Regions from separate parts of the Homo sapiens genome. Here region 2 is linked to region 1. Evidence: promoter capture Hi-C in human tissues and cell types (Jung and others, 2019). All regions are on one chromosome and are shown on one strand. The core of a region is centred on a gene start or on the middle of the fragment in contact, and the rest is flanking DNA. Distances in the headings are between cores, read along the strand shown. Region 1 holds the start of NFAM1 (NFAT activating protein with ITAM motif 1). Region 2 overlaps SREBF2 (sterol regulatory element binding transcription factor 2).

Region 1 (5,872 bases), core at 1,467-3,966:
CTGCAGTGAGGATTAAACTGGCAAGGAGAGCAGGTCCCCTGGAGCAGTGTCAGGCGCTTGGAAGCTTCCCGGAACTGCTCTATTATTGCTTCACTCTGCTGAGGTTGCCGTGCCCCTAGGCTTCCCAGGGAGGCTAGGCTCTTTCACTTCTACAGCCTCCGTGAGGCCAGGGCCCAGGGCAGGGCAGGTGTTCAGTATACTGTGAGGCATAGATGCACGGATAAACGGGGAATGGACGGAGGTCTGGGCAAAAGCCAGTGGCTGAGACGTGTGGTCCCCAGGGACCTCACCTGCAAATTCAGCTGCCAAGGCCTAGCTCGAAGGCTGTGCCACTGAAGCTGCCCCTGGGACACCCACAGAGCCTCCTCATTCCTCTGCTCCGCCTTCAGCCTTTGGGGCCTTTACTGTTTATTCACAGCTCTGGCTGAGGGCACAGGAGAGGAAGCACATGAGAGGTGCTAGAAAGTTTTGGTAGAAATGAGGCTCCTGGATGCGCTGCGGTTTTATTTCTATCCCCCTGGCTCCCGAGGAGGATCAGGGCCAGACACGAGGCCCCGACAGCGCAGCCAGGGCTGCTGGGCTCCTTGCCAAGGTGCGTCCCTGCCTCTCCCCAGGAGGCTGCGTGGCTGCAGAGCGTCTCAGAAACTGGGCAATGAGCTGGGACCCTCAGCTGCTTCTTGTCCAGTCATGTCTGCGCTCCACAGCCCAGGGCCTGCCTGGGGAGTATGCACGCCTCCTCCCACCCTGCCTCCCAGAGGCTACCCCTTCCCTTGAGGCCTCTTGTGCACCAGCGTGGTGTTGGGCACCTGCCTTCATATCAAGCCTGGAGGAAGGCTTCTCCCTGCCTTATGCTCACCCATCCGTCCATTCCTGCACCCCCTGGGCCAGGCTCAAGAAGGAGAGGGGAGGAAGACAGGCAGCTCAGGCAGGCAAGCGTGGAAACCAGGTGTGCAGCAGGCTAGACCCAGACTCAGAGGCGGCAGAACTCCCGGGAGTCCGAGGTACAGAGTTGGGGTGTGGGGGGCACCGTGACAGGCTGAGAGGTAGGGTCAGTGAGCTGGCACAGGGGCAGGAGCGGAGGCGGCACCAGGGCTGGAAGAGCAGGCTCCCTTGTTCCGAGGCAGTTTGGCATTCAGCTGCCTCCCAGTGCCAAGTCGTAATGAGACTTGTAGAGGCACAGACCGATGCTTTTCCAATGCTCCCCGTGTACCCTGAGGCATTGACACGAGGTCTATCACCATGGCATCAAGGTGCTTAGACAACCTGCTACTCCCAGGAGCCAGGAATAGCGTGAAGCAGCGGGTCTGCATCTCACTGTGACATATGTGAGCATGTATCACTGTGATGGATCAACAGTCAATAACACTGGGGTCCCCGCCTGCCCCCTGCGCGGTAGGAAACTTCTCCTGTTCATATGTCTTCCTCCCCTGGTGGGCGGCCCCTGCTCTTGCCAGCCTCCCAGTGCTCGTGGCATTGGTGGAAACGTCTTTAGGCTTTCACTGTTCATGTTTGGAGCAGCCCAGGGAAAAGCATGTGTGCAAAGAACTGAAATGGATCTCATGATGCCGTCACCGGGGGCTGCAGCTGGACACACCTGAGCAGGCAGTAGCAGGGTGGGAGAAGGCTCGGACATCATACCACTGGCAGTTCAAATGCCCGCCCCACAGACCTGCCCTGATCCTAGGCATGTTGTTTTGCCTCCTGGGGCCGAGGTCTTCTCTTTTGTACAACTGGGATCATCACATTTATCTGGTGAGTGAAGGGACACCTGCAGAGAAGGGAGGTAAGCGCTCAGCATGCGCTGAAACTCAGCCACCTTCCCGCCTGCGTCTTCCATGTACCAGGTGCCTCCAGCTCCACCAGCCATCACCACACCCCAGCCCCTTTCCTCTGCCACTCCAGACACGCAGGCAGATGTGTGGGTGCCAAGGGTGAGGGGCTCCCAGTCTGCTGGGGAAGGGGGTCCCGGCAGCAAACAATTCCTGTCCCCGGCTGATGCTGCTAGAAGTGAGAGCAGGGGCTGTGACCTGCAGCCAATGGGGAAGCAGTTCGAGGGTCTCACAGTTGGGAGGCCGAGTGAGCTAAGCTTTAGGGCAGCCACAGGGAGGAGCTGACGTTAGAGATGGACCAGAGAGGAGGCGTCTCCTGGGCCTCTGCAGGGGACCCACAGAGGTTCTCGCTGGGTGAATGATGGGCAGCCTGCCTTTCACCTGCCCTGGGTGTTTGGCCCTCTCTAGGGCTGGGAACATGAGGCTCCTGCCCTTCACCCCAGCCTCCCTACCACCCCTCACCAAAAAACCTACCTTTGGTAAACACATTATTAAGGGATTCTCAGAATATTTTAGAGAAGTTTGTGTGAACATGCTTGTGGTCGTTTTAAAAGTGTTTCAGAAGTGAGAGGCTAAACCAAGGCCCGAAGTCACTCATGGAAATCCCATGATCCCTCTGCACAGTTACCAGTGTCTCCTGGACGGGGCCCCTGCTGGAAAGGGGCCGAGACAGGGTGAAGCCCACCAGGGGTTGGAGTGGGGAGGCTTGGGTCCCGTCTCCAGCTCTTCTTCTGGTTGTGTGGCCTGGACCAGTCTCAGTGCCAGGTTCCTCATCTGGCGGCCACCCTGCTGGGCTGTTCCAGCTTTGCTTCTGAGCGGAAGGTCAGGGGCTGCCAGGGAGGAGCTTCGTGGGGAAAGCAAAGGGGAAGCTGTCAGCGCCGGCCGTCCCCTCCTGTGAACTAAAGAGTCGCCGCAGACAAGCAGGCCCCCAGATGGAGAACCAGCCTGTGAGGTGGCGGGCCCTGCCAGGCCTCCCACGCCCTCCTGGGCTCCCCGCAGCCCCCTGGCTCCTCCTTGGCGTGCTGCTGCTGCCCGGGACCCTGCGACTGGCAGGTAGTGTCTGTCTTCCTCCTTCTCTCTACTCTCTCGCTCCAGAACATCAGAGCGGCTTTCATCCCGCCCGGCGCAGCTAATTCCCAGGGACCTGTCTCTGGGGATTTGCTGGTTGTCGTTTGAACGCTGCAGACTTCACAGGGGAAGCCTTCTGGGACCGAGAAGATGTTTAGCTAATGCCTTGCCAAGGTGGCTTTTGAAGGGGAGGGGGACAGCGCTCTCTCCCTCGCTGCTGTGACAGCTTTGCCCCAGCAGTCTGGCCTCCTGGCCCTTAAACAAGGAGGGTGGGCGCTGTGTGGCTGGGGCCAGGGGCGGGGCAGGGGGGAGGGACAGCTCCCCATCCGAGGAACCTCACGTGGCTGCTGCGGGGGACACTGCGTTGAACCTGGCAAGTGGTGGGGCTACCCTCTGGGTTGTTGCTGGCATTGGCCAGGGAGAGCGGGGAGAGGGGGGAGGGGGGGATACCAGGGCCAGCCACAGGGCTCTGCGCCCAGAGGCACAAAACTGTCAGTCACCAGAAAGGGTCTCACCTCCCAGTTCCTGAAACACAACCAGAGGCCAAGTGTTTTAGGATGCAAGTGTGTCTTTCCACGCCAGCGGCGCTCCTTTCCTGGTTCCAGGCTTTCTTGGAAGCTGGGTGGCCGGGATCCGAGCCAAGCTGTGGGGTAGGTAGCCTCAGGGCCAGTTCATCAGGCCAGGGACGGCCCAGGAGGGTCCCATTCCAGGGCTGCCAGCACGAGGGCTCAGTGAATTCTGCCAGATTCTCTCTGCCCCTCCTTGGCCGGGCAGCAGCCAACCCTCCCTCTGGCCAAAGGGGTGGCCTCCACTGTGGAGACAGGGTGCCTTCCTTTCTATTCTCTTAGTTTATGGGGCTTTCAAGAGCTGCCCCCACCCTGTCCTGCTGCACCCCCTCTCATGACCACAAATTAGGCTTTATGGAGCCCTTAGCAGGGCACGTACTGGCCACCCTCACAGCACCCCTTGGGGCTCCTATTGTCCTCACCTGCACCATTTTAAGGACAGGGAAAAGGAGGCCCAGGGAAGCCAGTTCGTTTGCTCAAGACCTAGCCGGTAAGTAGAGGCCAGCCTCAGCCCCAGGCCAGCCTCAGCCCCAAGCTGGGCCCCTCGGCCAGTAGGCTCAGAGGATCCTCTTACTTGTAAAGAATGTTCTTCACCGGAAACTTACCCTGGGGAGGCAAAGGCTGACCTGTGTGTACCTCCCCAGGCTGCAGCCCAGAGCCCTAGGACACCATCTCCTTTAATCCTGTGCACGCCTCGCCCCACACCCCAGACAGTTGGTGCAAACACGGCCAGACCCCGGAAATGCAGCCTGTTAGTGTCAATGTGTCTCAACTACAGTCATTTTTAATTTAATTTCCCCCCAATTCCCATCCTTTCCCTTTGTGTGGTTCCTCCTCCCCAAAAGACACCCAGCACACCCTGGTAACCGAGCAGTAAGAGGTTTTATGGGGTGCTACTGGGGAAAAGCTCTTTTGTAACAGTCTCAACTATAACAAAACATTCCCAGTGCCACCCCCTCCCACCCGGTATTGCAACAAACATTACATAAAAGAGAAACTGTTCTTTCACAAGAGGTGAAAACACCCTTACGGTGTCCTAGAGTCCCTTGGAGCAGCAGACAAACCCCCACCCATGATTTTTTTTTTTTTTTTTTTTTTTGAGAGTTTCACTCTTGTCACTCAGGCTGAAGTGCAATGGCGCCATCTTGGTTCACGGCAACCTCTGCCTCCTGGGTTCAAGTGATTCTCCTGCCTCAGCCTCACGAGTAGCTGGCACTACAGGTGCCCACCACCATGCCCAGCTAATTTTTGTATTTTTAGTAGAGACAGAGTTTTGCCATGTTGGCCAGGCTGGTCTTGAACTCCTGACCGCAGGTGATCTGCCCGCCTCAGCCTCCCAAAGTGCTGGGATTACAGGCGTGAGCCACTGTGCCCGTCCTGTTTTTATTTTTTTGAGACAGGGTCTCGCTCCGTCCACCAGGCTGGAGTGCAGTGGTGCAATCTCAGCTCACTACAACCTCTGCCTCCCTCACTCAAATGATCCTCCCACCTCAGCCTCCCGAATAACTGGAACCACAGCGTGTGCCACCACACCCAGCTATTTTTTAAATTTTTTCGTAGAGATAGAGACTCACAGTGTTGCCCAGGCTGGTCTCGAACTCCTGACCTCAGGTGATCCACCCGCCTTGGCCTCCCAAAGTGCTGGGATTACAGGCGTGAGCCACTGTGCCCAACCCCCAACCCGCTCTTTGTCCTACCCCTGTGCATCCCCCTTCATCTATCTGTCACTCCATGTCACACCCCTGCCTTCTCGTCTCAGAGCTTTGAGGGTTTGCTGGAAGGAATCTTGCCCCTCCCACATCTTCCAAACCTCCCCTGACCGTAACCATCAGCCTTAACCATCAGCCTGGTGCAACCAGCTCTGCCACCTGTCAGTACCAACCCAGCTTGCATCCCTCAGCTGTGTCCACAGGGGTGTCACTGAAGGCCAGCGTCCCTGATTCTGCATCGTATCCCTGAACTTGCGAGAGGATGCTGGCTTAGGAGTACAGGCCAGGGGCATTCATCTTCAGTTTGATTTTTTATTTATTTATTTATTTTGAGACGGAGTCTCGCTCTGTTGCCCAGGCTGGAGTGCAGTGGCACCATCTCGGCTTACTGCAACCTCCGCCTCCCAGGTTCAAGCGATTCTCCTGCCTCAGCCTCCTGAGTAGCTGGGATTGCAGGCACCCACCACCATGCCTGGCTAATTTCTGTATTTTTAGTAGAGTCAGGTTTTCACCGTGTTGGCCAGGCTGGTCTCGAACTCCTGACCTCAGGTGATCCCCCCACCTTGGCCTCCCAAAGTGCTGGGATTACAGGCGTGAGCCACCGCACCCGGCCCAGTTTGAATTTGAGCTCTGCTACTTGCCCAGGCACCCTGGGCAGATTACTTCTATCGCTATGCCTCAATTGTCTCCTCTGTTAAAT
Region 2 (5,872 bases), core at 1,474-3,973, 590 kb after region 1:
ACCACAGGGAGGTGCTTCCTCCTAGGAGTTTCTCGCTGGGGTTGCCCCACCTCCCAGCAGTTAGGCTCTACGATGCTGCAATCAACCAGAGTCCCGACCCATGCAAGAGCCCCACCCTTGCTGCAGCCAGGGACTCCAATCCTTGCCTAATGCTAAAACACAGACATCAGATTCTTGTCATCCCATGTTTGAAAGGCTGTCTCTCTTATCCCACTTATTATTTTTAAATGACTGCTCTATTAAAAACAGACTTTGAAGGCCAGGCGCGGTGGCTCACGCCTGTAATCCCAGCACTTTGGGAGGCCACGGTGGGCGGATCATGAGGTCAGGAGATTGAGATCATCCTGGCTAACACGGTGAAACTCCGTCTCTACTAAAAAAATACAGGGGGAGGAGGGAGGGATAGCATTGGGAGATATACCTAATGCTAGATGACGAGTTAGTGGGTACAGCGCACCAGCACTGCACATGTATACATATGTAACTAACCTGCACATTGTGCACATGTACCCTAAAACTCAAAGTATAATAATAATAAATAAATAAAAATACAAAAAAAAATTAGCTGGGCGTGGTGGCGGGCGCCTGTAGTCCCAGCTACTCGGGAAGCTGAGGCAGGAGAATGCCATGAACCCGGGAGGCGGAGCTTGCACTGAGCCGAGTTTGCGCCACTGCACTCCAGCCTGGGCGACAGAGCGAGACTCCGTCTCAAAAAAAAAAAAATAATAATAATAATGAAAATAAATAAAAGAAACAGACTTTGAGAACAACAATCAAGAAGAAAAACTGAGCAAATTAGTAGTAATAATTTTTAAAAAGTACAGGAATTAACATTTGCTGAGCTCTTACTATGTATCAGCAATTAAACACTTTACACAAATTTCGTTTAATCTCAATGACACTTTGAGGTAGATGCCATTATCATCTCCACTTTACAGGTAAGGAAAATGAGGCACTCAGAGGCTAAGTAACTTGTCTAATGTCACCCAGTCAGCAGGTGGTGGAGCTGGGATTTAAAGTCAAGCTCTTAGCTACCACATAATGCAGATGCTTTGGTTCTATCATCATACGGATATCACCAAAGACAGCCTGACACTGGACAGGTGCTCAGTAAGTGCTTCATTCACGAATGAGTAGAGTGAATGCCCCAAGCTCAGACAGAGAAGGATGTGTCATCCCAGGTCTTTCCTGTATCTCCCAGCTCTTCACCTGCTGCTGCCCTGGCATCATACTGTTCCCTCTTTCACTCTCTTTTAGCAGGAGACTACAAAATTGAGTGAGATGCAGAGTGAGACTCCAAGGAACTGATCCTGCATGACCCTGTTCTGCAAAAGGAGGCCCTCACATTTCACATTTCAGGTGACCCACTGCCAACAAAATCAGGCACAAGCCACTTCACCTGAACTGTCCTCCTCCTGGGGGCAGAGTCTACAAAGCAAGAGATCTCAACCTTTTTCAGCCCTTAAACCATTCAGGCAAAAATGAAAGACCCCAACATCCCACCATCTTACCCTTCCATCCATTACCATGCCCCCAAATCTCCCTAAAACTAAAGAGAAAAAGAATACTTGCAAAGCAGGTTATCAAATCACGCTACAAATACAAACATCCACTCAAATTTGCATACACTATGTACTCTGGGCTGGGAGCTGGAGGATCCTATGTGCCTTGTGTGGAACTCCGCACAGGGCAAAGACTGAAAAGTATTCGTTTTCTTCCCATCTCCCATGCTCACAGAGAAGAAAGAGAAACCTAACCAACTCCATAAACTGCGACAAGGGCAAGAACAGACAAGTGCCTCACAAAGAAAGGGCTGTCAGAGAGCAGAGAAAGGACTGATCCATCCTGGCAGGCAGTGAAAACCGAGCTTAACGGATGAAAAGGGTTTATAAATTAGAGAGAGGGAAGGGTATTCCAGGCAAAGGAAATAGTTTGAGCAAAACCACAGTATCAGGAAATGTCCTGCCAGCTGCTGAAGTAGAGACAGCACGGTGCAAAATGGAGAGATGGAGCTGCCTGTGAAAGGCCTGACTTAATGCTACCATGTATATTTGGCGGCAGAAACTGCTTTTATTTCAGAGGCAAGGAAAGGCACAGAATACATGGTGGGCATTTGCCACTTTTGTTCCATTTGTCCATCATCAGACCCGACCCTCCCATTAGCACCCTGATCTTCCTTTGGAGAATCCCCATTGGGCAGTCCTCATGTGAGGGAAGGTTTCCTGCCAGTCAGCTCTGATTAATGCATCCTCCCACCAGGAGTGCGACCCTTGAGGGAATGACCCAGGAAAGCAGAGACAATATACAGATCATGAAGGCGGAGGAGTACTAAGCAGGAGCCTCCTTGGTTCTGGCCCATTTTCCAAATTGGCTCTCCAGCTTTTCTAGTCACTCCAAGAACCACCCTTCTAACAAATCCTTTTCTGTTCAAGCTAGATAGAAGCGGTTTCTGCTGCTTATCACCAAGAATCCTGACTGATAAAGAACACACTGAAGCAAGGAGGCACCTGACCAAAACCCTGTTTGTGGAAGATAACGAACAGCACAGTTATCAAGAGTGTGGTCTACACAAAACCCAGACACTCGAGCACCAGCACTGGTCAAGCCCTTCAAAATGGCTGTTCACTCAGCCTGGAACACAGCTGCTCTCTCCTTCCACCCCTTTAAGACCTCAGCTTATCCCTGAGAAGGCTCCTCTGATCCTGCCCCCTCCACTAGTTAGGTGTTCCTGTTGGACAACATCCCAGACCTTCCACATTCAGATCTTTGGGGGTATACCCTGGGAGTTCATAGACACATTCAAGTTTGAGAACCTCTGTCCTATGCAGTACTCTGACACACATATTCCTAGAGCATGCCAAATTATTCCCAACTTTGTCTAAATCTATCTAAATAAACACCATGCCTGCTCCTTTACCTTCTAAAATCCTATTTACTCACCCTTCACAATTCAGCCCAAATGCCAAAGTCCTTGTGAAGATTTTTCTAATTCCCTTCCTCAGTCCTCCAAAGATTTAGAGTTGTTCCTCTGTTATAGCCTCTGTTGTATTTTCCCATGTATTATGACTGGATGTTTACATGTTAGCTCCCTGAAAGCAGAGGCCATTTCATTCAACTCTAACAGCTTCTAGCACTGTGCTATGAATACAGTGGATACTCATTCACGTTGAAATGCAGCAAGGATTTTTTAAAAACAACTTTTGACCAGAGAAGGGGCTCCTAGACAGACAGGCTTCCTGAATCAAGGCATCTCCCACCTCATTTTCATAGGACAGCGAAGAATATGGAATCCCACATCAGAAAATCCAAGTTCATTCCCCGTCATCAGCATAGGAAGCATTGGCAAATCATCTAATTTCTCTGTCTCAGTGCCTTCATCTATGTCCATGGAAAATGGGCATAAAAATCAAGCCATGGGCAGGCGCAGTGGCTCACACCTGTAATCGCAGCACTTTGGGAGGCCAAGGCAGGTGGATCACGAGGTAAGGAGTTCAAGACCAGCATGGCCAACATGTTGAAACCTCATCTTTACTAAAAATACAAAAATTAGCCTGGCATAGTGGCACACACCTGTAATCCCAGCTACTCGGGATTACAGGAGACAGGAGAATTGCTTGAACCCAGGAGGCAGAGGTCGCAGTGAGCAGAGATCGTGCCACTGCACCCTAGCCTGGGCGACAGAGCAGGACTCTTGTGGGGGTGGGGGGTGGGGGTGGAAATCAAGCCTCAATTTTATAGCACTTATTAGGAAGACAAATGTATCAGGAGGACTTGGGTAAAGTGTAAGGCCTCACAGGAATGTTAGCACTTGGGAAGAAGCATGATTTCCTTTCACAGCTGTGGGATGGAGGGGGCTTAAGCTGGGCAGACACCAGGTTAGCAAAGCAGTTCCATATCTGGTTCAGCAGCTCGAAATTTCATCACTGTTCCAAACTAGATCCTGAACCCAACAGACCTGTTCCACAGGGCCACGTGGAGGAGCAAGCTTGTAAGGGACATTTAGATACATATCCATTAGCAATTCTCAAGGCCTGAGATATGCAGAAATTTTCTAGTTTGCAAGCCCTTCGATAGTTTAGGATTCATTTCTAAACAAAGTTCCCCAGGGAGCCTTACCTTAAGGCACAGGCTCTGGGATTCTGCTACTCTAAAAAATTCCATCATGTCAACAAAGTTTAACCCTTAATTTTGTGGTCACTTGCACCACACTCTGTGACTGCTCCTCTGTGTCCCACTACCACACCTACAAAAGCCATTTCAAAAGGAAAAAATAAACATTTCCAAACATATTCTAAAAACAGGTCCCCTAGTCCTACATCAATGTGCAAACTGAAGTTCATTCAGTTCCTCATTCATTTTTAAATAGAGCCAAAAGAGGTTAGGTCCTGTCCTCTTCCTTTTTTGTACCTTAGCTACATCATAGGTGCTGCAAGAACTAAGTGAGCTAAGGTACCCAACCCCCACCTTACAGAGGAAATTAAGGCTCAGAAAGTACCCTAGGACCCAGGGGAAGTCACTTTAAGTGTCCAGCATAGAGCAGACATTTTTTCTTAATTTAAAAAATATATATACATATACGTGTGTGTGTGTGTGTGTGTGTGTGTGTGTGTATGTATTTTTTTTTTTTTGAGACAGGGTCTCGCTCTGTTGACGAGGCTGAAGTGCAGTGGTGTGATCTTGACTCACTGTATCTTCAGCCTCTTAGGCTCAAGTGATCCTCCCACCTCAGCCTCCCAAGTAGTTGGGACTACAGGCTGGTGCCACCAAGCCTGGCTAATTTTTGTATTTTTTTTTTTTTTACAGAAATGGGGTCTCACTATGTTGTCCAGGTATGTTGCCCAGGCTAGTCTCAAACTCCTGGGCTCAAGGGATCCTCTCATCTTGGCCTCCCAAAGTGCTAGGATTACAGGTATGAGCTACTGCGCCTGGACAGACACTTCTTGATAAACACATGTTGAATAAATAGCTTCAAAGCACACCACACCACCTGGTATTTGCAACTTAGAAGCCTGCTTACATCAGACAGGGCATGGGACAGAGGAAAAATACATGGGTTCTAAAGTTGCACATGTTGGATTTAGGCCACTGTTCCATCACTTACAAGCTACGTGATCTATGCCTCAGTTTCTTCACCTGCAGCATACCACAGAATTGAAGAAAAGATTGCATGCAAAAACGTATTATGAGACGAATGTAGGTTAAGGCATGGAACGGTGCCTGGCACCCAAGGCCATACACATTCTGTGAGAACAAGGAACTTGTTTATTTGCCAGCACTGAACCTGGAGCCCAGTACAAAACAGGCCTACATAAAGTTTTGAACTGCATAGTGGGTGCTGCCTACACAGTGATTTCAAAACCTGGTGAACGATCAAAAAGTAGAGGTGACTACGGAAACAGTCAATAACTAATAAAGAACAGGATGAGTCACGTTCACTTAGAGAACATCAATGCATCTCAATGTATCTATCTGGGATCAAGATGAAATGGTCTTGTATTCATTATCAAATAAAGTCATGTGTCACTTGACAACAGGATTCATTCTGAGAAATGTGTCATTAGGCAACTGCTTCATTGTGCAAACATCACAGAGTATACTTACACACACCTAGATGGTATGGCAATAGCTCCATTATAATCTTTTTTTTTTTTTTGAGACGGACGTCTCGCTCTGGTGTCCCAGCTAGAATACAGTGGTGCGATTTCAGCTCACTGCAACCTCCACCTCCTGGATTCAAGCGATTCTCCTGCCTCAGCCTCCCACGTAGCTGGGATTACAGGCTCATGCCACCACGCCCGGCTAATTTTTTGTATTTTTTAGTCGAGACAGGGTTTCACCATGTTAGCCAGGATGGTCTTGATCTCCTGACCCC

What was found. The method cuts DNA at HindIII sites, captures the fragments that hold promoters and counts their contacts. A contact is called where the count stands out against the background at its distance.
Region 2: a fragment that was not itself captured here is called in contact with the fragment with the promoter of NFAM1 in region 1 in 1 of the 25 tissues and cell types used here (bladder).

What each region holds. Positions count from the first base shown.
Region 1 is chr22:42,429,247-42,435,118 of GRCh38, reverse strand. NFAM1 (NFAT activating protein with ITAM motif 1) reads left to right here and starts at 2,716. Exons shown (of 6, transcript NM_145912.8): 1 at 2,716-2,882. The coding sequence starts at 2,762. The HindIII fragment of the contact is 19,415 bases long and covers 1,076-5,872 here.
Region 2 is chr22:41,842,772-41,848,643 of GRCh38, reverse strand. All of the region lies in intron 1 of SREBF2 (sterol regulatory element binding transcription factor 2), which reads right to left. Among named protein-coding and RNA genes, the nearest start is that of SREBF2-AS1, 11 kb to the right of the region's middle. RefSeq lists an enhancer at 1,380-2,180. The HindIII fragment of the contact is 6,451 bases long and covers 1-5,872 here.